4 separate regions of the Homo sapiens genome follow, and all the other regions are linked to region 1. The links are contacts of gene promoters, found by promoter capture Hi-C in blood cells and fetal thymus (Javierre and others, 2016). All regions are on one chromosome and are shown on one strand. Each heading gives the region's core, a stretch centred on a gene start or on the middle of the fragment in contact. The rest is flanking DNA. Distances are from core to core; before and after follow the strand shown.

Region 1 (4,674 bases), core at 1,756-4,255:
GTAGATCATCAGGTCAGGGTTGCTACACATTTTTGTTCCAGTTGCAATTGGGCAAAGGCGTACCATGAGGTGCCTGGCCTATTCTTTCCTGCACCCTGTATGAAAGCAGCCCTACCTCTTCCTCCTCATTAGGGTCAATTGCCTCTGCCAAATGGTGCTGTCTTGATTTCAGGTCCCTATATACAGAGTTCAAAGTGCCCTGGGTGGCAGCAATAGCTTATAGTTTAATGGAACCCCTACTGTGTCCCCTGGCAAGAATGTAACCCCTTTGAGAACTAGGACCTCCAACTCTCTAACAGGAAGCATAACATCCCCCATGGGGTCATGGGGAGGGATGGCTAGTGCTTCTACCTGTGGGTTCATGGACTCACGTATTCTTACTGGGAGCACAGCATCATATAGAGGTTCCTGATTTAACACACACACTACATCCTGAGAGATGGCACTAAATCCTTCAGGGAGTGGCCCCTGAGCTGGTGCTTCATCTGTGCCTTCAGAAGGCAGTTCCAGTATTCTGTGAGGCTGGTTGCTCCTGACCAGTGCAGGATGCAACACAACCAGTGGATTCCTTGGTCCATGGGTTCAGCCCCAGACCTTTACTGTAAAATGGGTGCCCTGGTTGGGTGTGGTGGTGTGTGAGATCCTGTACCTGTGGGTTGGGCATTCTGTAAGGATAGCAATGCTGGCTGAGGCTCTGCAGGCAGGAAAGACAAGCCCACACCTGGTGCTGTCCCTGTGAGGGGCAAACCATTGGTCCTTGCAGGAAGGAGGGAATCCAAAGTAGCTGTTTTGCCACCACGTGGCCAGTTAGTCTGCCTGAGGAGTACCTTGTTTAGTCTATTGCTGACAGGTTAGCCATTCATAGGCAGCAGTAGCGGGATTGGTGTAAGTGCTGTCTACCTGTTAGGTGATGCTACACACGATAGGTTAGTGGATATTCTTTTATTCCCCCTCAAGATCTGCCCTTCTTCCTTCTGCCTCTGCTCTCTGCCCTCTAGGAGGCTGGCCCCTGCCCTGGAGGTTTGGTCATTGGAAGGCCCCAGTAGATCAGAGAGCAGGAGAGAGCAGTTGAGTATTTATTCTGTGAGCTCCCTCCCTTTCAAGCCATGGCTTTGCAGAGGCTGTTCCCCTTAACCAAGGGCCACAGGTGCTGTGGAGCAGCCCTCTTCTATAGCTCCAAGTTCCCCAGGGTTCCCAGTTAGGGATGGTAATGGCCTCCCACTGTCAATACCCGCAGAGTGCTGCTTCGGCCTCCCCTGCTGGCCCCTCTGATCTCCACTTTGTGAAGTGGCTCTACATTCAGGCTGTCTTGAGTCACCCTCTCTGAGGATGCCATCTATTCTTCCAGGACCCTAATGGACACAAGTAAGTCATTTTCTTTTTCGCCTTTTAGAATGAGTTGCAGACAGTATTTCCATCTTAATTCAGCCGCCCCAATTCCCTGATTAATCTTGTGGGCCACCTTAAATTGGGCAGTCTGGGAAGATCTTTTAGAAGCAGTGAGGTTGAGGACCTTGACCTGGAGGATGAGGAGGGGCTTGCCGTTTAACGATCTGAGAGCAGGAATGCAGGTAGTGAGGTGGTAGGCAAGGGCAGAGGCCCAGGGGCCAGTGAGCTTGGCTTTTTCAATACACAGAAGCTTCAGGAACATGGCAAACAATACATGCAGTAACATTAACATAGGTAGGTGGTGTGCAGTTTATGTGCCTGTAAGAAATGTAGTGCTGACTTGTAAGAGGGTGTTGGCCTCTTTTCAGAATGAGGCCAACTTTTCATTCTATTGGGCATACACCAGACTTTAGCACAGAGCCAAGTCTATCAACCATAACCCCCGGCCATCTCAGGGGTTCCCCTCTGAATTAAGGGAAGGAGATGGAACATGTTAGCCAGAGGCACTCAACAGTTCTAAAAGGTGAGTATCCACAGAAATGAGACAACCAGAAGATATCCAGAGTGAGAGGGAAGATGGATATAACGTTATTTTTCTTAAAAAAAAATGGTTGGGGGGTTACTCAAATCACAAAGATCTGAACTGCTGGTTTGTTGTTTCATTTAGGTATTACAGGAGTTAGCGAAAGAGTTACTTGGGACCCATTTAGGACATGAATATGCCTGGTAGGAATCTGAACCCAGCCTGACTTCCAGCAGTTCTTCCCTTTCCTGCCAAGACTTGTTAGTGCCACTCATTCTGTTCTCTGGACCCAGGCTGTACGCCACAGCCTTCTTGCCTCAGCCCTGTGATTTAAATTTGCAGCAGAATCGCAGTACAGGTTAAGTGTGGTGCATACTAGATCATAATTTTTGGCCAAGTTGTGCGTCTAATACAGAATTAAGTCATCAGTTGAACAAGACTTGAAGTTCATTTTCTGAATCTTTCCCATTCGTTATAGTCTCAGTTTTCTCAAAAGCCCTCTCCAGGCCAGAAACAGTCTTACCATTTTTGTTTCCCGCACCGAAGTCCGGCAGCTAAGAACTCGTGAGAAGATTCTAAGGGGCGTATTTCTGTTTGGCGCAATCTCGACCCTGCCTCTCTAAATGTGAGTGCGCAGAGGTCGCTTTCCGCCACGAAGCGGCGCTAATCCACCACCGAGGACAGACCCACTCAGTTTTTTGCAGGATTTGAAGTTTTGAACTTTTACAAGTGTCAGAAAGGTAATTCACAAGTTTAGAGGAATGTGCTAAGGCACGAGTGGTGGGTGCTCCAGCCAGGGGTGGGCTGCAGAAGGGGCGCGGTGTCGCCGGGCTCCCCTCCGACCTCTGGGGTCCACAGTGCGGGCTTGGGCTGGGGAAGCCTCAGAGGTGCGTGCGGGGGCGGGTGCCGGCGCCCGGGCTAGGTGAGGGCAGAGGTGCGCGCTGCGCGTGGGATCAGCCCGGCGCCGACGGGTGGCTCCGAGGAGCTCGCTCCTTCCTCGCCCCCGCCCCCTCGCCGCGCGGGGCCAGCCCGGCCGCTCCTCCCCTGGGTGGGTCCCTGCTCCTTTTCTGGCAGGGTCTATTTGCATAGAGGAAACTGCCCAAAGTGGCCGCTGTGGAGGAGCTGGCTGCGGCGAAGGGGGCGTGCGCGGCGATCCGCTGCTACCCGGAGGCTAACCCCCGCGCCCGGCGGACCTCGTGCCTCGGGCTGTCCCGCCTGCTCCTCTCGCACCCAGCCTCTGCCCCAGCAGCACCGCCCCCTCGGAGAGTCCACGCGCGACGAACGCGCCATGGGCCCAGGCGAGCGCGCCGGTGGCGGCGGCGACGCGGGGAAGGGCAATGCGGCGGGCGGCGGCGGCGGAGGGCGCTCGGCGACGACGGCCGGGTCCCGGGCGGTGAGCGCGCTGTGCCTGCTGCTCTCCGTGGGCTCGGCGGCTGCCTGCCTGCTGCTGGGTGTCCAGGCGGCCGCGCTGCAGGGCCGGGTGGCGGCGCTCGAGGAGGAGCGGGAGCTGCTGCGGCGCGCGGGGCCGCCAGGCGCCCTGGACGCCTGGGCCGAGCCGCACCTGGAGCGCCTGCTGCGGGAGGTGAGCGTCTTGGCGCGTGGCTGGGGCGGACTTGGGTGTGTCGGGTTGAGGGTGGCGGTACGCTGGGAGCCGGGGGCAGCGTGCAGGTCTCTGGGAGGAGGGTCGCCCGCCGGCTGCGTGCGCTCGGGGCCGTCCCAGAGATGGGCACGTCTGCGCCAAGGCGGAGGCAGGGGGTGCCGGCCCCAAGGGGTTTTGCGGTCTCCGCTCCGGCCTCAGGGTCCCGTGCCAGGCAGGCGGCCGCGAGAAAGGGGAAGGAGAGACCAGGGACTTTGGAGTAACAGACCTAGGGTCAGTCTCCACGGGGTGTGCGCTCGGACACGCCGCTTCCCGCCGGCGGCCAGAGTCGGGGATAAAGATGAGGCTCGTGGGAAGTATCTGGTGACTGTGACCAGTAGCACCTACTGTTCCTAACCAACGCTGGTACACCTGGAGAGGCGGTGGTCACGGCGGAGGAAAGCCTCAGACAGGCCCGAGGGCTGGGCCCCGCTGTGCTCCAGTGTGTCTCCAGCAGCTCAGGCCCCAAGACTGAGCGGTCACCGTCGCACTGAGGCCTCGGGGATGGGGGTGGGGGCGCCCACATGACTTGGTAAGATGAGAGGAAGGAGAAACAATCGGGGGTGGAGGACCTGGATTCTGGTTTCAGGCGGTGCCATCTGGGGTGTGGGCTCGCAGGACATCCGGAGTTTCCCGTCCCTTACCTGGGAATCGCGACTTCCACAGCTTACTTGAAAGCTCATATGAGGCTCTGTGACACTTCTAAGGGTTAAGATTGCTGCTGTGTGTCTTCAAAGAAAGAGCCACCTTTGGGTCCTCCAAGCCCTCACCCAGCATGTTGGTCAAAGCCTCCGCCTTTTGTGTGCGGCATGTGCGGCAGTTCCCCTCCCCACGAAACTGGACAGGCCCTGGTGGGCTGGCCAGAGCCTCCCCTGCCGAGCCTTCCTCCTTCTCCTGGGATAGATGGCTGCTCCAGACCCCAAGGTCGCTGTCCAAGGGCGCATCCTCAATTGCTGTGTGAAAACAGGCAGGGTTTCAAGGTGGAGGAGAGGGAGCACTGGCCTGTACACCCCCAATTCCCTAGACTGCCCAGCTGGGATCTTTATTAACGTATCCAGCTGTGTTTCCAATGTTGAGTTCCTTTGGATTCCAAAGGAAAGTGGGAGAAGATGACTTGCGTACCACA
Region 2 (5,207 bases), core at 1,342-3,841, 130 kb after region 1:
TAGTCAAGACGGAGTTTCACTATGTTGGCCAGGCCAGTCTCGAACTCCTGACCTCAAGTGATCCACCCGGCCTCCCAAAGTACTGGGATTACAGGCATGAGCCACCGTGCCCGGCTCTGTTACTCTTCTTTCTTTATTATCTGGAATACTTCTACAAAGAGAACTGCACCCCCGCCCCCTGCATCCACTGTTCAGCTACCCTGTGGTACAGTTCACTTAGGAACAGCAGGATGGATGTTTTTATTTTTTCTCCCTTATTTACCAATTTTCCAAATAATGAGTTTGTTCCCAGCATCCTCCAGAAGTGAGGTCAATCGCAGTTATTTCTACTGACACCCAAGGGTTCTCATCTTTGGACGGTGGGAGCTTCAGGGTGGCATGTGAGTCCTTTTGACATGACCCTAATTGTCCCTGGTAGTTTCTTTGCTTCCACTATGACAAGATGGTCCAGACTGACCTTATCTGTTCTTTTAAAGAGGAAATATATAGAGACCACAGTGAATATGGGTGCTGTGGATACCCATTGAAACTCATTAGTTATTAGGCCTTTTCAGCACAGAACTAGAAAACGTTTGCCTATTTGTTTTTAAGATAAAATGCATCTTAAGTGCATGCTGCTGTTTTCAGTTTAAATTCAAGGCTACCTAGTTTTACTTAACATGATCTTTTACTCTGGCTGAAAATCCTGCCTCTCAGCAGCAGCACCTAACTCACTTGCTTTATTCCATGATACACATGCAGCAGTCTGAGGATGATAATCACAGCACTGCCTCCAACAATCTGTGAAATTGTGTTACCAAACGCAATTTAAGTGGCTTTTGGTTTTGTTTGGGCACTTCTTTTTGTTATTAAGGAAAACCTTTTTAATGGGGGCATAATATTCCATATTTGAAGTAAAATTTTTTTCTACTTTTGAACATTAAGATTACATTGAAATTTTTGCTATTATAAAGAACTCTGTGGCCGGGCGTAGTGGTTCGTGCCTGTAATCCTAGCACTTTGGGAGGCCGAGATGGGCGGATCACTTGAGGTCAGGGGTTCGAAACCAGCCTGGCCAACATGGCAAAACCCCGTCTCTACTAAAAATACAAAAAATTAGCCGGGCGTGGTGGCGGGCACTTGTAGTCCCAGCTACTCGGGAGGCTGAGGCAGGAGAATTGCTTGAACCTGGGAGGCAGGGGCTGCAGTGAGCCGAGATTGTGCCACTGCACTCCAGCCTGGGCGACAGAGTGAAACTCTGTCTCAAAAGAAAAAAGAAAAAAAGAATGATGTGATAAACATCTTCACCTTTGACTTTTATTTCTGTTCAATCTTTTAGTCCAGACTCTTAGACTGAAGTGAGATAGTGAAAGAGAGTAGATGTGTTTAAGTGCCTCAGACACGTGGCCCACACCTTTTTTGGAACAAGGTGTGCATGGAAGGGCCTGTATCCCTGCACCATGATTAACATTTTTCATTAACTGTAATAGTAATGAATGGTTCTTTACCAAACAAACCCAAAACAGGGTGTGTTGTTTTATCTCTGCATGTTTACATTATCAGCCATAGGCTTGTTGGACGGTTATAGTTCCATTTTGAATTGTCTGTGGAGGGGAAATCAGGGAATTTTCTTGCTTTTCTTACTGATTTGCAAGACATTTTTACTATCTTAAGAAAAACAATCCTTCGTTACGTTTGTTGCAAAAATTTTTCTCACTTTGTCACTTGCCTTTCAGTTTTTATCATTTTTTTTTCTAGTACAATTTTAAAACTTTAAACTCTGGAGTTTGTTTATTTTGAGATGGAGTTTCGCTCTTGTTGCCCAGGCTGGAGTGCAATGGTGCGATCTCGGCTCACCGCAACCTCCACCTCCCGGGTTCAAGCAATTCTCCTGCCTCAGCCTCCTGAGTAGCTGGGATTACAGGCATTCGCCACCACGCCCAGCTAATTTTGTATTTTTAGTAGAGACGGGCTTTCTGCATGTTGGTCAGGCTGGTCTCGAACTCCCGACCTCAGGTGATCCGCCCAGCTCAGCCTCTCAAAGTGCTGGGATTACAGGCGTGAGCCACCATGCCCGGCCAAACTCTCGAGTTTTTTGACTGTTTCTCTCATTGTCCAGTCCCATCTGATATCGGTTACATGTTTCGCTGTATTTCCTTCTGGTTTAATATAAAGCTTCATTTATTTTTTCCATTTTTATTGTTTATTCCCTCACTACAAAAGTAATCCATGTTTGCCATGGAATTATAGAAGCCTAGGGAAGTATAGAAGACTTCATTTATTTTTACGTATAACTCTTTGAAAATCTGTAACTTATTATGGTGGCAAGGTTGAGGGAAGGATATGACTTGAGGATCTTCCATATAACTGGTTGTTCTAACACCATCTGCAGAACAATCTGTGTTTCTCTCCTATTGTACCCGAAATTGTTTGGTATATGAGAGTCTTTTCAAAATCTGCACCAAGTGCCCATTTGTTTCAATTCATGTGGTTATGTAATCCACCTTAACAACTCAAGTCCCTTTCTTGTTATTTTTCCTTTTCAAAAAATTGTCTTAGCTACTCTTGCCTGTTTATTCTTCGAAATACACCTGAGAATTATTCATTAAGTTAAACCATCTCGGTGGTCTATTGATTGGAATGGCCTTAGGTGGAGTCTGGCTTCCTCCTGATGGGCGGGCGAGCTGAGGGAGCCAGTGTCAGACATAGGGCCACTGTAGAGGGCTGGTCCTCCGCTCTGACCTCCTCGTGGAGCCTGGTGGGATGGGTGGGCAGGGGATAGGTGCCAGCTCTCGGCCTTGAGGTGCGGTCCGTCCGCGTGGCAGAGAGGAAACACACAGAAGCGATGGCGGAGATGCCAGGGAGGGCCGGTGTCATGCCTGGATGTGGAGGCTGATGCAGGGGGACTCCCGTGATTCTCGCTTGGTCAGCTGGGTGGATGGTGCTTCCCAGGCTGAGATTCTGGGGTTCTGTGGCCTGAGAGCTGCCTTATTCATGCAGGTGGCCAGGTGTTGTTATTACTCTCTTTACACAGGAGGACCTAAGCTTACTTAGTTGAGTGACTTGCCCTGGCTGCAGCCCCCCTGGGGTTCCACCCTGCTGTGTCAGCCGATGCCAGGGTCAGGCGGGCAGCCCTCCCATGCTGGTGCCTGTGGCCTGGCCCCCAGCTGTCACTCTGCACCAGGACTCCTCCCAAACGGGTTGGAAAGGTTTAGGGCGGGCCCACGGGCAGGCCCGTGCGTGACTTTTCACGCCTTCATCGGTGACCCAGTCAGCGACTGCTCAGTGGTACGGGTTGAACTGTGTCCCCCCCGGAAAGATTGCAGGAGTTCCTCTGAATGTGACCTTATTTGGAAATAGGGTCTTTTGCAGATGTAATGAGTTAAATGAAGTCAGACTGGAGGGGAGCAGGTCCTTAATCCAACCTGACAAGACTGCGTGGCCACCGTTGTGTGCACGTCACGTGCATGGGGAGAAGCAGAGAGGAGCGGCCCAGCTGCTGGCCAAGGACACCAAGGATGGCAGGCGCCTCCACAGGCCGGGAAGGGGATGGAGCAGTCCTAGCCAGGGGCTCAGAGGGAGCAGGCCCAGCCGACACCTTGACTCCGGCTTCCAGCCTCCAGAACTGAGAGAGAATGAGTTCCTGCCGTTTAACCCACACCATTTGTGGTATTTTTTAACAGCCACGGGAAACTAATACACGCAATAAAGGATTAATGAACACGCCTGCACACCGGCGTGGAATTCACTCTTCAGCCACTCTGGCAGGCCTTCCTGGTTGCACAGGAGTGAGGATGTGGTCTCCAGGGGCCTGTGGTTATCTTGTGTGTTGGGAGATAGGGAAGGGAATCCCGGGAGTCACTGCTGGGAGCCTGCTCTTCTGAGTCTCATAATTCTGCCCAAAGGTTGTGATTATGCCCATTTCACAGGCGAGGCAACTGAGGCCCACAGATGTTAAATGCCTTGCCAGGAGACTGCAGGCTTTTCCTCCTTTCTGGTCACCCCAAGCCAAGCCAGGCCTGCCCCCACCCACCTGGCATCACCTCACTGGAGAGCAATGCACATCCTGTTCCTGGAGGCATGTTTTTAGCTGACAGCACGCAGCCTGCAGGCCTAGGTTATCTGCACTATTTGATAACCATAGAGAAAGTGACCATTTGTTCACTTTTTGATCTGAGTTGCTTTTCATAGGCTTTTAAATTTCAAAACGTTTGAATGAAGTACTCTATGAGCTTTTTCATTTCATGTCAGCAATTCTCAAACATCGCCTGGCTTTGTTAACCTGGTCCTTGAGGTAAGATTGAGGGTGGGTGGGCAGGGTATTTTAGAAAACAGCCCTTTTAACTTCATCTGTGATCACTTTTCAGGGCTGTTGCTTAACTGTCCATATGTTGTGTTTCTGTGTAATTGTTTCTGTGCTCCACCGTATGAAGACGGACAGAGGGCTTGCAAAGACAAAAATAAATACGTCTCTTTTTTTTAAGAGTGTGATATTTAAACTTTTTCTATAAAATGGTTTTATCTTACAAACTTTGGCCACAATATCTATACCCCTGCTCCTAGACCAAAGGCCCTGAAAAACTAGGAACTATTTTTTTCTTTTATGTTAATATCTCTGGTCTGGCACAGGCATGGCATGGAGTAGGTTTTGAGAGTCAGTATGGAATCGTGGTGAGAAGTGAGACAGACTGCCTGGGTTTGAATTCCTCGTCTGCTACTGCTACTGAAAAAGTGTGTGACTGTGAACGAGTCGTTTCACCTGTCTGTGGAATGGGGAGAAGAGCATCCTCATCTTTGCCCTCATCTGCATTGTGGAGAGCTGGTTGACTGAAGGAACCAATGAATTGAATCCACAGAAGTCTACTGTGGGCCAATCTTAAGAACCCTCCTAGCTCTGTACTTTGGAAGTCTGTGAAAGTGCAAACTTTTAAATTAAGGGGTAGATTCCTTGGTCAGCTGAAGCGTGGGTGCTTCAGGATGAATCCTGCAGTTAACAGAATTGAGGGAAATTCCAAACCCGCATGGCCAGTCTCCTCCCAGCCCTTACAACAGCACCACAGGCACGGGAATGACTCAGAAAGTGAGTGGCTAGTGAGACAAGAAGAAAGGGTGCTCCATCATGCTCTTTCTTCTAATAGCTGGAAGAACATGATACCCCCAGGTCATCTCTTCACGGGGCTAGAGTAGGCTGCACTGTGTATGCTGGTTTCCAGATGTCCTGTTCTCTT
Region 3 (5,276 bases), core at 2,757-5,256, 150 kb after region 1:
GTGGCCATATGTTAGATGACAGCATAGTTCAAAATCAGAAATTACATAGGTCCCATTATTTAACCATTAGGGTATACAATCAGGAATAACTAATAAAAAAAAAATGCTTAGAAATTCAAAAATAAGGCCGGGCTCGGTGGCTGACGCCTGTAATCCCAGCAATTTGGGAGGCTGAGGCAGGCGGATCACTTGAGGTCAGGAGTTTGAAACCAGTCTGGCCAACATGGTGAAACCCCGTCTGTACGAAAAAAAAAAATAGCTGGGCATGGTGGCGAGCGCCTGTAATCCCAGCTACTTGGGAGGCTGAGGCACAAGAATCACTTGAACCTGGGAGGCAGAGATTGCAGTGAGCCGAGATCGTGCCTCTGCACTCCAGCCTGGGCAACAGAGCAAGACTCCATCTCAAAAAAGAAACAAAAAACAACAAAAAATTTACAGAACTGGACATCCCCAGAAGAAGAAGATTTTCGTTTTTCGTAACTTTTGAAAACTCTGGCCAGAATCTGAACAAAGAGGAGCTGAGTGGCTGCAAGACATTTGGCCTTTGTGTGTCTGGTCTTGAATCACCTTCCAGAGTAGAAGTCGTTCGGATCCGGTTAGGAAGAGCGCTCGAGGCTCTGAAGTTGCAGCTCACTGAGAAAGTAGGGTTCGTTTCCTGCCTTGAACCAAAGTGGCACATGGTAAGTGTCTTCACATGGGTTCTGCCGCAGTGACTTTAATGGGTTTCAGGGAAACGCTGTAGGTGGGTGGGGTGAGGACGTGCAGGTGCTTCCTCCCACTGAGGACTGCAGGCCACAGAGCTCAAATGAAGGCAGTGGGACAGCGAGACCCCACTGGGACCACACAGATGCACAAGCTGCTTCAAACCTTTCAGGGCCCTTAAATTCCCAGCAACTAAAAGGAAACAGGCCGCCTGGGGTGCTGGAAACCGCCGGCCTGGAGTCAGCCGAAGGTTCGGTGAGACCGTGGGAGGCCACCCTTTGGTGGCTCATTCTCCCCTGCTTGTGAAATAGGGATATGGGAGGGGGGCAGAACAGACCACGGGTTCCCAAGCTGGGCTCTGGAGAGTTCTAAGGGTGGCAGAGGCCCTTCCCCAGCAGGGGTGGCGAGGGGGAGTACAGCAGGTCAGGTCTTGGCGCCTGTGCTCCCTCCAGCCAGAGCTGTTCCACTCCGATTCTTCTCTAGCCTGGCCTCTCCGAGATGCCTTCTGTTTAAAGAGCAGCTTCTGCTGCTTTAAAGTAAGATTTTAATCATCAGGGGACTGAGCGATTTGTGAGGCCCCTTTGGCGCCCTGGGTTTCCCTGAGTCAGCAGGAAGCACGCTGGTGCTCCCCGAATGGCAGACTGGGACCCCAGCTGTCAGGGAGGGAGACGCTCGGGCCTATCATGTTAGATTCATAAAGCTTGCACTCTGGGAAATTGCTTTTGACATGCTCAGGGGTAAAACGTTTCTCAAAAGAAGCTCCACATAATTTAAATGATGACATTTTAAATCATGTGGAGATGGCGGTGATCTTTAAAAAATGTTCCCATCTCAATTTGCAAACCTGTTTGGACAAACCAGTCAAAGGCAATTTTCCTCATGGAATTACCAGCAAACAGAACCTTTCATAAGACTTCTGTGCCTCAGACAGGCCTCTCCCTCTTTCCTGACCACCCACCCATCCCAGCTTTCCTAAGACAAAGAGAGAGAGATGGAGTTCAGACTGTTTTTTTTTTAATCATCTGGGGACCTTGGCCAAGGGGAAGAGGAGAAAGCAGGGGCCAGGCTCGGGGTCTGACCAGGCTGCAGGACTCGGCGTGCGTGGTTTCTCAGTTGGACGTCCCAGAGGGCCAGGCCCGTGGGTGGGGACTCAGGTTGAAAATCAAAGCCTTGGCCAAACAGATGAGGATTTGGGGCAGGGAAACTGAGGCATGAGCCACTGGACCCTCTGCCTGGTCATGCTTAGGCTATGAAGTACACGGTTTCTTCCACAAAACCCCAGTCCTCCTGTTATTGATGACTTGGGGCCCACAGGTTTCCTTCATTGCTGCCATCAGGTTGGGGTTGGTGGGATTCTGAGATCTGGGCAAATGGCACAGAATGTTTAGCCCAAAGACAAGCAGATGAGGTTTGTGGTAGAGCCAAATGCTGATTCTGCCCACCCCGCGTCATCACCCCGCGTCGTCACCCCGTGTCGTCTGTTAGGGGTTCCTTGACTATTTTGTTTGTTTCAAAAGCATGTTTGTGTTTGTCTTTCTCCAAACATCAGGGTGAAATGGGATCTTAAGAACCATTAAGGCAGCCCTTTGAAACTCTAGCCCCGCATCCCCCCATCTCTGTCTTTATAATTTGGGGTCAGCTTCATCAGCAAGCCCCTGTGCGCCTGTACCGAGAGGCCTTGAATTTGGTTTCCGGCTCTGCAGTTGCCCTCTAAAATTCTCAATAGTGTGTGAACAGGGTCCCACACTTTGATTTTGCAAATTACGCAGCCTGTCCCATGTGGAGTTTTAGATTTGAATTATTATTTTATTAGTATTTTTAGGCTATATATCTTCACTCTAAAAAATGCACGTGTATGTATTAGTTTTATAAGTGAGATTTACAGCAGTCATTGAACTTCTTGCAGAGCTTTGCTGCCAGTCTTAACTGTAGGGTGTGGTCTGTCAGCCAACAAACAGCTTTTTAAAGAATGTTTGCATGTTGTGTGAGAGGGAAAAAAATACGACACAAAGGGCCTTTAATCAACATGCTTGCAAAGCCACTCTCACAGAGTAGACGTCTTATTGGGTAATTTCTGGGTCCCAAGCCCCATGCTGACCACAAGGATACAGAGAGAAACAGAGCACAGCCCCTGCCCTCAAGGAGTGCCTTGTCTAGTTGAAATCTGTTTCGTAACTTTCTAAACCTCAAGCCACTCTAAGAAATATGCAACCCAGAATTCAGTACACATAGAGATAATACACACATAGAAAGATGAAACAGTAGGCCGGGCATGGTGGCTCATGCATGTAATCCCTACTTTTTGGGAGGCCAAGTAGGGTGGATCACCTGAGGTCAGGAGTCCGAGACCGGCCTGGCCAACATCATGAAGCCCCATCTCTACTAAAAATATAAAAAATTAGCTGGGCATGGTGGCGGGCACCTGTAATCTTAGCTGCTCAGGAAGCTGAGGCAAGAGAATCGCTTGAACCTGGGAGGCAGAGGTTACAGTGAGCCGAGATCTCACCACTGCACTCCAGTCTGGGCAACAAGAGTGAAACTCCATCTCAGAAAAAAAAAAAAAAGAAAGATGAAAACAGTCATCTCATGAAATAAGGTACTTACTGTATACACCGCATTCTCTTTTCTATTGTATTTCATTTTTTAAAATACTGGTTAGAGCACAGTTGATTTCACAACCCATTAGTGTGAGTTTTTAAAGCACTGCTCTAATGAGAGAGATTGATTTTTGCTAAGCATTATCCTAGCGGTGGTGCAGACTTCCAGAGGAAGCGGCATTTGCCCAGAGTGTTGAAGGATGAGATGGAGCTTGCGGTGGAGAAGCTGGCGGTGGTTATGAGGTGAATTCCAGAGGGGGTCATGAGCCTGGAGAGAGTTCCACGGGGCTTGGGTCCTGGGGAGTTGGTCCCGGAAAGGCAAATCTGCAGATGGTGGAGCACATTGGGTGTCCAGCAAGATGCTGTACTCTCTCCTGTGTGAGCCATAGGAAGTGGTTTGTTTTTTTAACAGCTTTATTTGAAATATACCATAAAATTCACCTATTGTAAGTGGACAGGGCCATGATTTTTAGTAAATGTATGGAGTTGTCCAACCACCATCCAGTTTTAGAACATCTCCATCACCCCAAAAAGCGCCCTGGTGCCCATGTCCGTCAATCCCCGTTCCTTCCCCCAGCCCCAGGCAACCACTGATCTGTTTTCTGTCTCTGCAGATTTGTCCTTTCTAGAAACCGTGTACACATGGACTCCTACAATCCAGTCCTTTGTGTCTGGCTTCTGTCACTCAGCGTCGCATTTCTGGGGCTCATCCATGTTGTAGCATGTAGTGGTATTCCATTGATTGGCTACACTGTAGTTTCTCCATTTGCCAGATGATGGATGCTTGGATTGTTTCCAGTTTGGGGCTATTTTGAAGAACGCTTCTATGAGCATTTGCATCTGAGTTGTATGGACGTATGTTTTCATTTCTCCCGGGGAGATCCTAGGAGCGGAGTTGCTGCACTGCATGGTGAACGTATGTTTAACTCTTTAAGAAACTGCCTCGCTGACTTCTGAAGCAGCTGCACCGTGGCGTGTTCCCACCAGCAGCTTATCTCGTGTCTTCACATCTGCTGGAGGATTTGAGCAGAGGAGAGATGTGATGAGACTTGCTCTTCAGAAGATTCCTCCAGCTGCCGGGTGAGGGTCACTGAGAGGGAAAGGAAGAGGCAGGAGGGAGAAGTCTGGGTCCTAGGCTAAAGCTCCGGCTCTGGGTGGACCAGAGACAAGGAGCTGGAGTCCAGGGATGTGTTCAACAGGGTCTGGCATGGAAGGAGCAGGAGCCACAGAGACTTTGGTAACTGGCTCAGCCTCAATCAGCAAGTGGCTGAGAGAGAAAAGATGGAGGTGACTTGGGAGCAAGACTTCCATCTGGACTGCGATGATGGTGCCGGGGCCTCTGGCTCTTGCCTGTCCATGCATCATGCATGGCCAGATCAGCAGTCACATCCCTTCAGAAGGTTCCCACATCCTGTAAGGGGAGTGGCTCCCAGTCCTGGCTGCCCTTTTGAATCACCTGGAAAACTTTAAAATCTGCTGGCTGGGTCCTGATGTAACTGATCTGCGCACAGCCTGGGCATGGAGAGGTTCAAGCTCCCAGGTGATTTGAATGCACACTGGGCTGAGTCAAGCTCTCAGGCGCAGGTGCACACTGGGAGCTCCAGGGGAGTTTTACAAACTACTAAAGTGCTGAGTCCCACCCAGAGCTTTTGGTGCAGTTGGGACAGGGGGAAGCCTGTGCACTAGGAGTTGTAACCTTTCCCCGGGTGATTATAACGCGCAGCCACGTTTGGGGACTGCTGCTTGAAGGCAACTTGTTTGGACCCAAGAGTCAGTTCTGAGCAGATGCTTCTAATGCTAGCATTTCCTAAAAGAGTGTTCTTGATTCTCTCGCTCTTTATAAGTAGACCCAGAAATCTTTTTTTTTTCCTTCTCAATGTACAGATTATTTTTCTGAAGCATTTTATAGTACATGTTGCTAAAAAATAAAACCAGATTCCACTGCACGTGTTCTGTAAACCCATCTGGTTTACATAA
Region 4 (4,987 bases), core at 1,664-4,163, 250 kb before region 1:
TGGCAGATGGGGGGAGGGGAGAGAGCTTTTCTTTTACTCATTTCTTCTCAATTGCCTTCAGCTGACAATAATCCTTATGTCAAAGCAGCCTATTTTGGGGGGGCATGTTCTGCCACCCTTCGCATGGTGACTGCAACCATGAATGTAATGGCTTTTCTGAGTTCTCTGGGTCCTCGTACTGGATCACTGAACACCCTCTTACCCAGGCTGGAGTGCAATGGTGCGATCTCGGCTCACTGCAACCTCCGCCTCCCTGATTCAAGCAATTCCTCTGCCTCAGCCTCCCGAGTAGCTGGGATTACAGGCACATGCCACCATGCCCAGCTAATTTTTTGTATCTTTAGTAGAGACGGGATGTCACCATGTTGGCCAGGCTGGTTTTGAACTCCTGACCCTATATTTTATTCTAAGAGTTATATAGTTTTAAATCACTTATATTTAGGTAACTGATCTACTTTGAGTTAATTGTTGTATGTACTATTAGGTAGGGTCCTAATTTTCTTCTCTGAATATGTTTTAAGATCGGGTTGACAGGATATGATGGATTGAATGTATATGTGTGAGAGAAGGATTCAGGGATGTCTCCATGGTGTTCGAGCACTGGGAGGATGTGATTGACTGATAGGGAAGATAACGAGCTCAGTTTGAATCTTCTGAGATGAAGATCATTGCTATCAGGAGACATTTAGCTATGAGTCTGGGGTTCTGTGTAAAAGGCTGGGCTGCAGAGTAGGGAGTACTAAGTGTACAAACAGTAAGTAAAGCCATGACACAGGGTGAAGTCACTATAAAGCTGAGAGTGAGGAGGAGAAACCAAAGGAAAAAAATTAACAGTTTAAATATAAAGACTTTGAGAACTCTAGCATTAGGAAGTCACAATCTAGGGGAGAAAGAGTGACCAGTGAGGCAGGAGAGGAATCAGGAGGGTGTGATGTCTTGGAAGGCAAGTGCAGGAGTGTTTCAAAGGGAGGGAGGGATCATCTGTGCCACATGATATGGAAGGATCAACTCAGATGAGGACTGAGAATTCACCATTGGATTTAGCAACGTGGGAGCAACTGGTGTTTTAGATTAAAACTCTTGGGGACAAGGATCAGAAGTTTGATTTGAGTGTGTTCAACAGTCAGGTGGTGGAGGGATGCTGGATACACACTGAGATTTTTGTAAAAGAAAAAGAAGATATTGGGTGGTAGTTGATGAGAAAAGTGGGTAAACTGAGGCTATTTTTTAAAAAGATGGGAGTTAATGTTTGTATAATGAAGTGAAAGAATCCAGTGGGAAGTGAAAGAGCGATGGTGCAGAAGAGAGGAGACAGTTGCTGCGACGGTATCATAGAGTAGGCTAGAAAAACGAGGTCACTGAAGACTCGGAAACCTGCTTTTTTACACGTCCCACAGATGGTTTTATGTACCAGCATTTTGGAACCACTTATAAACCAAAAACAAAAGTCTAAGGCCCCTCAACCATCTTAAGACCCCTCAGCCAGGGCTCTTAAAATGTAACCTGAGAGACTGGTTCAGGCCATCTTGGGGAGTGGGAGTCAGACATGCCTCTACACCCCTCCAGCATTAACATCAACACAGACATTAAGTCTGGTAAGAAATATTTTGCAACCTATTCTCTCTGAAGCCTGCTAGCTGAAAGCTTCATCTGCATGGTAAACCTTTGGTCTCCACAACCTCTCATCTTAACCCAGACATTTCTTTCTGTTTGATCCCAGGTCTTTAGACAAACTCAACCAATTGTTAACCTCCGCCTCCTGGATTCAAGTGATTCTCCTGCCTCAGCCTCCCGAGTGGGTGGGATTACAGGCTCCTGCCAACACGCCTGGCTATTTTTTTGTATTTTTTTTTAGGAGAGAAGGAGTTTCACTATGTTGGCCAGGCTGTTCTCAAACTCCTGACCTCGTGATCCACTCACCTTGGCCTCCCAAAGTGCTGGGATTACAGGCGTGAGCCACCGCGCCCAGCCTATCCCAGGAATTTAAATATTTATTTACTCCAACCATTTTCTTACATTTCTAATTATCTTATAAATATTTACACCTATGGATTCCATATGCTTATTATTATTGTATAGATAGACACAATTTATTTTCTGAAAATTACTACTACTAGTACCAGCAGAATGTGGTAGATGCATAGATGTGCTGCCTGGACCCTCCTTGGGGAGGACTTGCTGTCCAGTTGTGGGAGTTTGTTTAGAGCCTGGCTGGCTGCTTCAGGGTATGCCTGAGCCAAAGAGAGCACCCCCAGCGTTCAGGGCCTTCCCTGGGGAGCCCCCTCAGGTGCCTGAGGCCTGGGTATAAAGATCTGGCCATCTCTTCTTGGCCCAGCCAACTCTGAGGGGGCGATGCTTGTTCTGGCATCCTGGCTGGCTGGCAGAGGTTTTGCTGAGCCTGCAACGGTTTTGACTTCTGCCCAAGCCTGTTTCTGCTTGCTTTTTTCATGGGTTTATCCCTAGTAGGGTCCCTTGTACGCCTCAGGCCCTCCACTGCCTGCTCTGGATCACCTGGCCTACGACACAGAGTGCACATATTATTTCAAACCCTCATTTTACTTAATTTACCAATATTTTGTAAAGCCATTTCAATGACAAAATAGTCGTTTTACTACTTGAATAAGGATCTTAATGTGTTTAAACAGTTGCGTATTTTCTTAATTTTGCTACGATAACGAATGTTTCTGTTTAATTCTTTTTTACTACTCCTTTTTACACTTTATACAGAATCACAAGTCTTTTTCTGGGGTTGGGGGGTGGCAGTGTACGTGTGCAGGGGTTTGGAAACTTTGTGGCTTGGCCATGGATCTCATGGCCTGAGAGCCTCCTTAGTTTCACGGATGAGATTGGCCCTTGTGGAGTTCGAGTCCAACCCAGAACAAGGAACCCTGGGTCTCCTCCAAGTGCTGCAGCAAGCTGGCCTGGGGTCCCCCAAAAGGCAACCAGAGTCACGCCCAGGATCACCCAGTCTGCAGCAGGGTGCAAAGGTTTGGGGGTCCCCCACAAAGGCAGCCAGAGCCAAGCCCAGGGTCCCCCCAGCATCAGCAAGATCTACACCTTATACTATAAGACTCTGTATATACTTTATACAGTCTTACAAATAAATTCCTACAAGTGGAATAGCTAGATCGAAGTGTATGCATTTGGAGAAAGACTTTTTTTTTTGACACATGACACATTTTGCTTGTTTACTATGTTTTCTCTCCATCAGAATGAAAGCTCATTGAGGGGAGGGACTTTGGTCTATTGTCTGTATTCCCTGGTGACTCGAATTGTACCTGTATGCAACAGACACTCAATAAATATTTTCTTTGTAGACTGGGTAGACATGAGTTAGATCTTTGATGCTTCTGAGGAGTCTGGTTTGGGCAAGAGGGTGCTAGGGAGAAACTGCTCCCTGCAATCTCCCCATTTTCATCTTTCAGTGTTGAAAAGTGGGGAGGAGGTGGATTCAGTTTGCTCGAAGACAGAGCCAGTGGGGCGCAGAGGTGCTCAGAGCAGCCTTTGGGAAAGTGTAGGGGAAGCTGGATTCCTGACTGCCAGCCTTTGGGCCTGGGTTGGACCTAGGACCCTGAGACAGGACATACAACATCTGTGGGAGTCACCTGCTAGTCGCCAGCTCACTGAGGAACCGAAGAATATACTGTTCTTGGTCTGAAGGCACTTGGAGAAGGAGAGGAAGAAGGGAGGGGGCTGAATCTCTTCTCACCCCCATCTCTGCCAGATCCCAGACCCCCCTGGGCCTCTGTCCCACACAGACCAGCCTAAAAGACGTCAAAGGCCCAGGAGCCCTGGCCAGGGTGGGGGTCACCATTTTGCAGCCATAGGTTTGGAGTGCTGACTCCAGCAGAGGCATCTGGCCAGTGGCTTGAGGTGCTGTGTCTGACATGGTTGCTGGCCATAGAGGGCCTCGGGGCCGTCCTGAGCTCAGACCTTGCCTGCTGGCTGCTGGGATGGCTGCTTCTGCAGCAGGGGCAGGGTGTCCCGCTTCTCAGTGGAGCACAGCTGCTGTGTCCTCACCAGCTTGAGCTTGGTGGGGCTTTGGATCACTTGGACAATCTCTGCCTTCCACTCGTTCTATAGGTGATGTTTCAGGTTCTTGGGCCCAGCGCTGTTTCTTCTCCTGGCAGTGCCTTTCCTTCTCCTCCTCCAGGTTAGGGGCAGAATCCTTGGCAAGCTTCCTTTCCTGCTGTTCCTTCATCTTCCACTGCCAGGATGTGTGCAGGGGCTTGTCCTGAACCATCTGGGATAACTTTTTCTTGCAGTAGTCCTTCCACATCCTCCCGCAATGTGGGCTTCCCCTTCTGGATTATAGGAAACTCCTCCTCCTCCTCCTTCGACTTCTTGGATACTGGAGCCTGGACTGAAGAACCTTTTTCCTTCTTTGCCCCATGGCCGCCTGTTACCTCTCCCCAGCTAGAGGCAGCTTGCTTGGCTCCTGCTGACCCCAGCAGGGAGCCAGGTGCCTTGGGTGTCAGCTCCCGTACTGGCCGTGACGGCTCTGAACTCGGCACCTGCTGACTGGGGTAAGGCTCTGGTGATCCTGGGCCCGGGTATAGGTGCTCATGCCACCCCCACCCCCCGAGTCAGCTCCTCTGGACTCTGGGCCCACTCGGAGGCTGGTTCTCCCTGGCCCTGAGAACACCGTGGTGCCTCCTCACTTGGCTTTGGCTGACATTGTGGGGATTTGGAGCTAGACTCTGGCTGTCTTTGAGGTGACTCCAGGTGTAGATCTTGCTGATGCTCGGGGGACCCTGGGCTTGGCTCTGGCTGCCTTTGTGGGGGACCCCCAAACCTTTGCACCCTGCTGCAGACTGGGTGATCCTGGGCTTGTCTCTGGCTACCTTTGGGGGGACCCCAGGCCAGCTTGCTGCAACACTTGGAGAAGACCCAGGCTTCCTTGTTTCTTCTGGGTTGGACTCAAACTCCACAAGGGCCAATCTCGCCCATGAAACTGAGGTGAGACTCTCACGCCATGAGATCCACG

The links. Contacts are between HindIII fragments. The CHiCAGO score rates a contact against its expected background, and 5 or more counts as called.
Region 2: a fragment that was not itself captured here is called in contact with the fragment with the promoter of COL23A1 in region 1 in 6 of 17 cell types (M2 macrophages, M1 macrophages, M0 macrophages and 3 more); the score reaches 10.7 in M2 macrophages.
Region 3: a contact is called between a fragment that was not itself captured here and the fragment with the promoter of COL23A1 in region 1, in 1 of 17 cell types (M2 macrophages). The highest score is 5.9, in M2 macrophages.
Region 4: a contact is called between a fragment that was not itself captured here and the fragment with the promoter of COL23A1 in region 1, in 1 of 17 cell types (M2 macrophages). The highest score is 7.0, in M2 macrophages.

What each region holds. Positions count from the first base shown.
Region 1 is chr5:178,588,724-178,593,397 of GRCh38, reverse strand. It overlaps COL23A1 (collagen type XXIII alpha 1 chain), which reads left to right and starts at 3,005. Exons shown (of 29, transcript NM_173465.4): 1 at 3,005-3,494. The coding sequence starts at 3,201. RefSeq lists a silencer at 2,804-3,003 and an enhancer at 3,659-4,559. The HindIII fragment of the contact is 4,652 bases long and covers 1,642-4,674 here.
Region 2 is chr5:178,453,269-178,458,475 of GRCh38, reverse strand. The region is part of intron 2 of COL23A1 (collagen type XXIII alpha 1 chain); the gene reads left to right. LOC124901148 (a long non-coding RNA gene) reads left to right here. Exons shown (of 2, transcript XR_007059080.1): 1 at 1-380. Among named protein-coding and RNA genes, the nearest start is that of COL23A1, 130 kb to the left of the region's middle. The HindIII fragment of the contact is 870 bases long and covers 2,157-3,026 here.
Region 3 is chr5:178,438,607-178,443,882 of GRCh38, reverse strand. All of the region lies in intron 2 of COL23A1 (collagen type XXIII alpha 1 chain), which reads left to right. It overlaps LOC124901148 (a long non-coding RNA gene), which reads left to right. Exons shown (of 2, transcript XR_007059080.1): 2 at 1-5,245. Among named protein-coding and RNA genes, the nearest start is that of COL23A1, 150 kb to the left of the region's middle. The HindIII fragment of the contact is 5,204 bases long and covers 1,405-5,276 here.
Region 4 is chr5:178,840,080-178,845,066 of GRCh38, reverse strand. It overlaps the pseudogene LOC100129457. Among named protein-coding and RNA genes, the nearest start is that of ZNF354B, 17 kb to the left of the region's middle. The HindIII fragment of the contact is 2,533 bases long and covers 1,647-4,179 here.